Linked DNA regions of Homo sapiens: region 1 is linked to region 2. Evidence: promoter capture Hi-C in 16 types of primary human blood cells and fetal thymus (Javierre and others, 2016). All regions are on one chromosome and are shown on one strand. The core of a region is centred on a gene start or on the middle of the fragment in contact, and the rest is flanking DNA. Distances in the headings are between cores, read along the strand shown.

Region 1 (2,700 bases), core at 129-2,628, 570 kb before region 2:
TCCTTACAAAGGAGTAATGGGAGATCCTTCCTTGAGTTGCACTCCCCACACAGCCCACAGCAGAGTCCAAAACTCCAATTTAGTTTCTTAGGGCAGCACCCTCAGCAGCTTCAGCCCAGGACAACTATCGGGGTCCAAAGCAGACTGCTGCCACCACCACTGAGGCACAGGAGCCAAAGGCTGGGCAACAGCTTTGTGCCTGAGAAGGTGGCTTCCCCGGAGCATTGCCCACTGAGCGGTAGGGAGCCAAGTCAGTGGCAGAGCAGGACAGAAAATGGAGGTGAGAGTTCAGCATCTCCAGGGGAACCACAACGCACTCTGGACCGACCTTCTTCATGGGGAGGCCTCCAGCACCTCAGCCCCTGCCCTGTCTCTGAGTTGACTGATACTGCAGGGCTCCGAGGTTCTGCCTTGGGCCTCCCTCAGGCCTGCCAACCTGAGGAGTTACTGTGCTTCAGTTGCCAGATGTGCATGGCCCCTGAGCACCAGCACCACAGTCTGAGGGACCTCCCGGTGCATAACAAATTTAGTAACTGGTGTGGGGTTCAGAAGGGCTCACCTGGGGGGTTGGACATGACTGAGGAGGAGCTGGGGGCCAGCGGTGATCTCAGCTCTGAAAAGCAGGAACAGAGTCCCCCACAACCTCCTAATGACCACAGCCAGGATTCTGAGTGGTCCAAGAGGGAGCAGATCCCCCTGCAAGTTGGGGCCCAGAACCTCTCACTCAGCGTGGAACTCACAGAAGCGAAACTGCACCATGGCTTTGGGGAGGCCGATGCCCTGCTCCAGGTGCTGCAGAGTGGGACAGGGGAGGCGCTTGCTGCTGATGAACCTGTGACATCCACCTGGAAGGAGCTCTATGCACGGTAAGGACCCCCAGCCTGGAGTCGGGAGGGGAAGGGGTGGGCTGTGAGGAAAGAGAACCCAAGAAAGCTAATAGCTTGCTGTTTCCTCTGCCCTGGTTCATCTCTGGGATCTTCCAGGGGTCAGAGATAGATCTTAAAGTGAAGGACATTCAGGGCCAGCTTCAGCGAATCGTGTTTTGCCTCAGGCAAAAAAAGGCCATTGAGACCCTCAGGAGAGAGCGGGCTGAGCGACTTGGGAACTTCTGCCGGACGCGAAGCCTTAGCCCTCAGAAACAACTGAGCCTCCTGCCCAACAAAGATCTCTTCATCTGGGATCTTGACTTGCCCAGCAGACGCCGAGAATACCTGCAGCAACTGAGGAAGGATGTTGTGGAGACCACCAGGTAGTGTGGACCGAGAACCCTGCTGGGAGCAGGCTCTGTTGGGGGAGGGGAGTATGGGGAGCAGGAGCTGAAGTTTTAGCATCCTGGAGGGTTCTCTATAGGAGACAGGGTAAATGGAAAGAGGACATAGAAGGGAATGGAATGAGGGAGGGGGTGGGCAGAGAGAAGGCACAGGAAATGATGGACAGAAGGGCTCTGACATGCTATGCAAGTCTGCAGGCCTGGGTCTCAAGGTGGCTTGGTTCTCTCTGTCCAGCAACCTCTCCTGAGGCTAAAAAATCATACTTTAAAACCCTGTGGGCAAATGGAGGTTGGGTCTTTTAAGAAGGTGGTATCACCCAAGCTAGCCTTGGATGGACAGACCAGGACTGTCACCCACCCACCATGTTCTTTCCACCCCGTGATCTTCCTCAGGAGCCCAGAGTCAGTGTCAAGGTCAGCTCACACACCCTCTGACATAGAGTTGATGCTGCAAGACTACCAGCAGGCCCATGAGGAGGCCAAGGTGGAGATTGCCCGGGCCCGAGACCAACTGCGGGAGCGGACTGAACAAGAGAAGCTGAGAATCCACCAGAAGATCATTTCCCAGCTATTGAAGGTGTGGAGTGGGGCATGCCTCTGATTTCAGGATAGGCCTGGACCTCAGACTGGTACACCTTCACCGTGGCCGCCTCTGAGTCTTGGGACATACGTAACATTTGGAGGAGGCTGTGGGACCCCTGTTGTCAACTCAAAGCTGGGCTCACTGTCTTTTTACATCATCACACCAGCTCCTTTCCCCAGGCCACGGCCTGGGAGGAAGAGGCTTTGGTGTGAGGTGCAGGGTGTGGGGAAATACGAGCAGTGGTGGCTTTAAGGAAGCCAGGGCATGTGAGGCTAAGTCAGGGAGGCCCTGGGAGGTGGGTGAAGGAGCAGTAGAGGTGAGCAGGGAAGGGGTGGCTTTGGGTAGGAAAAGGCGTGGCCTGGGGAAAGTGAGGGTGCATCAGAAGCTGGTTAATGGTGATTTGTCCTTCCCAGGAAGAGGATAAACTACATACCTTGGCCAATTCCAGCTCCCTGTGCACCAGCTCTAATGGAAGCCTCTCGTCTGGCATGACCTCTGGCTATAATAGCAGCCCAGCCTTGTCAGGCCAGCTCCAGTTCCCAGAGAATATGGTGAGTAGGCAGATGTTGGGAATGAGCCAGGGGCCTGGACTGCCAAGGCAAGAGTTTGAGCAGGACGCTGTGCCTCCTGGAGTTTGGGCAAGACGCCGTGCCTCCTGGAGGCCACTGCTGACATGAGCCCTTCTTATGTGCAGGCCTTTGGTTTTCCATTTAGTTCTGCCCCCTGCTCCTTCTGTTCATTCATTCAACAAATGTTTATTCTGTGGGTATTATTTTAGGATACAGCGGTGAGCAAAACTGTTCTTGTCCTTAGACTGTTTGAGGGATAAATATTAAACAACTGATTT
Region 2 (2,700 bases), core at 147-2,646:
AAGACAGGAATGACTCTTCAGCCCAGGTGCCATCTATTCAAATAGGAGGTTCATTGACTACTGGGCATATTTGTTTTCCTTGAGGTGAGAGGAGAATGGGGTGAGATGATCAGGAAATAAACAGAAGACTGTAGAAAGAACTTTTAAAGTAAGTGATCTTAGTAGTTATCCTAGAGAGACACTCCCACGTGAGCACACAGAGGCATGGATAAGTATGTTCCTTGCAATATTGCTTGTGTAACCGGAAAATTGAAAACAACCTAAATGCCCATCAATAGGGGACAGGATTAGAAATTACTTGCACTGATACTATGAGAAATATTGAGGTAGATCTATAGGTACTGACTGGCATGGACAGAGCTCCCAGACATACTGTGGAGTGAAAAAAATCAAGTTGTAGAAATATACATACAATATGATGATACCATGGATATACCAAAAAAGACCACACATGCTAATCCTATGTATTACATTGAGTAAATGTATGTCTGAGTGTAAATGTGCAGACAAAAGACAGGTAACAGTGTTTACTCTGGAGATGAGGCTGCCATTGGGGATGGCGGGCAGAGGACTATAGCTTTATCTATAATTATTTATTTATTTTACTCCAACTATGTATTCCCATATTTCTTGTGCAATTAAAAGTTATGAAAATTTTAAAACAAAAATTTAAACACAAAAAGTAATAAATAAAGGTAAGGTTGTTACAGTTGTAGAGGAAGTTGAAAGCTTATTCCTCTAAATGATTTCAACTAACGATTTAATCTTCACAGCAACTCTTTCCAGAGTGAGGGGGATGATATAGAGAGAAGGTTGGTGATGGGAAGATTAGCTAAGATCAGTAATAGACCTTCTGAAATGGAGGAAGAAGAGAAGATATGAAGATTCAGAGAACTTAAGAGCTGGAAGACAATTTCAAGATTGTCTGGTCCAATCCCTCCTTTTTCAGGCAAGGGGGTTGGAAACTAGAGGCGAAGTGACTTGTCCAATGTCAAAGGGTCAGCTAGTAGCAGAGAAGGACAGAAACCCTGACCCCCTCATCTCTGGCCCTGCCCTGTCCCACCTGGCTATGGAGGCAGGCATGTTAGCAAGCAGCTGTGTGCTGTGTTTACCTGTCTGCCTCTACGCTGTCTCCTGGTTCTCAAGCCACCAATGAATACTGAGGTTTCTGGGATTCTTGCTTTTCCTGCCTCAGTTCTGTATTTACTTCTTTATTTCTCTGAATCCACCCTCCACCCCTTGACTTCCTACAGTCTCTCTCTGTCCTTCTTATCCCTGAACTCCAGTGGCCACAGGGGCTTTCCCTACCTTGGGCCATGGTAGCTGCCTCCGGTTCCTGGGATGCTCCCCACAGAACAGCTGGGCGGTCTGGAGCTTCAGCAAACTGGTGCCAGAGTGTCTACTTCCCCTTCCATTGGAAGCCTCCAGGAGAACCGAAGGCGGGGCTGGACTGCTGCACTGCCACCTGATTACCGAGCAGATCACAACTGGTTTGCTCACTTGCCCTCAGGTTTTTCTTGGCAGTGTTGCTGAATTGAAAGGAGGTGTGGAGGCTGATGAACTGTCACAGCCTTATGCCGTGTGGGCCTTTGATAGCTCTTGAGCAATAGGGCATTCCCAGGGAGGTGCTGTGCTGTGGTGGAGAAGTCAGGAGGGAGAAGCGAGCTGATGGGCCCGCCAGAGGGATGCAGGGGGCTGCTGGAAGGAGCATCAGGGTCCCAAGACTCTGCTCACAGCTTAAAGCACCTCATTGAGCCGAGAACCCTGCTAGGTAACCAAGGCCTCTCTTTTATCCTGAAAAGTCACTTCCTGAACATTAAATGCAAACAGAACCCTCTCTGTCTGGATCTCCTTCGGTATGATTTCACTGTATTTAGCTTTGGCAGTGGCATTGTCTTGCATGAGACCTGGCAGGTCCAAGACAAATCACAAATAAAAGCAAATAATCACAAATAAAATAGAGGAAGAAAAATTGGGAAGATTTGTGGAGGAGGTGTGGAAATAGGTGAGAGGGTGGGAATGCCGGTGAGCAAGGGCCTTGATCCTAGTAAGAAAGGCACAAGCCCTTTCATAGGGAGAAAAGCGCAGGTGGAAGGAGAGAGAGGGCAGGAGGGGGAAGGGCTCTGCCTGTGGAGTGGGTGGGACCCCCATGCCTACCCTGTCTTTCTGTGCTCTGGGGCACTTCTCCCCACATCCCCTGCTTTCTGGGTCCTTCTCCCTGGGGAACCTCTTTCACCAGCATTGTCCTCCCTCCTGTATTTTCAATTCTCTCTGTCCCCACTCAGCTCTTTTTTAAAACCTATGTAATTATTTTTATTTTTAATGTCCAGAATGTGTACTATAAGGGCCAGGGCTTCTTCCTGGACTTAATTTTATAAATTCTTGATTGGTTGGTGAGACCAATAGCGATACTTTTTCTTGTCTAATTTGGTTTCCGGGAAAGCTTCGTTCAAGTCGTCAATGGTCATCTGATCAAATGGTATTAAGTTCCTCATCTTCTCCAGCTGTTTCTCATATTCTCCAACCTGGCCTTTGAGAGAGACACCCACTCAGCACAAGTTTTCCCATCTTCTTTTTCTTCAGCATCCACCTGGGCAGTATATTTATCCTCTGGTACAGGAAGCTTCAGGACATTAAACTTCTTCTCAAAGTCATCCACCAAGCCTGCCTTGGCCACATTGGCCTTGTAGTAAGTCCAGT

The links. Contacts are between HindIII fragments. The CHiCAGO score rates a contact against its expected background, and 5 or more counts as called.
Region 1: a contact is called between a fragment that was not itself captured here and the fragment with the promoter of TGM5 in region 2, in 1 of 17 cell types (activated CD4 T cells). The highest score is 5.2, in activated CD4 T cells.

Annotation. Positions count from the first base shown.
Region 1 is chr15:42,693,477-42,696,176 of GRCh38, forward strand. STARD9 (StAR related lipid transfer domain containing 9) reads left to right here. Exons shown (of 33, transcript NM_020759.3): 23 at 1-866; 24 at 1,052-1,249; 25 at 1,664-1,847; 26 at 2,267-2,404. Among named protein-coding and RNA genes, the nearest start is that of CDAN1, 42 kb to the right of the region's middle. The HindIII fragment of the contact is 2,958 bases long and covers 1-2,700 here.
Region 2 is chr15:43,265,532-43,268,231 of GRCh38, forward strand. It overlaps TGM5 (transglutaminase 5), which reads right to left and starts at 1,397. Exons shown (of 13, transcript NM_201631.4): 1 at 1,309-1,397. The coding sequence starts at 1,318. It also overlaps the pseudogene ATP5PDP1. The HindIII fragment of the contact is 1,714 bases long and covers 728-2,441 here.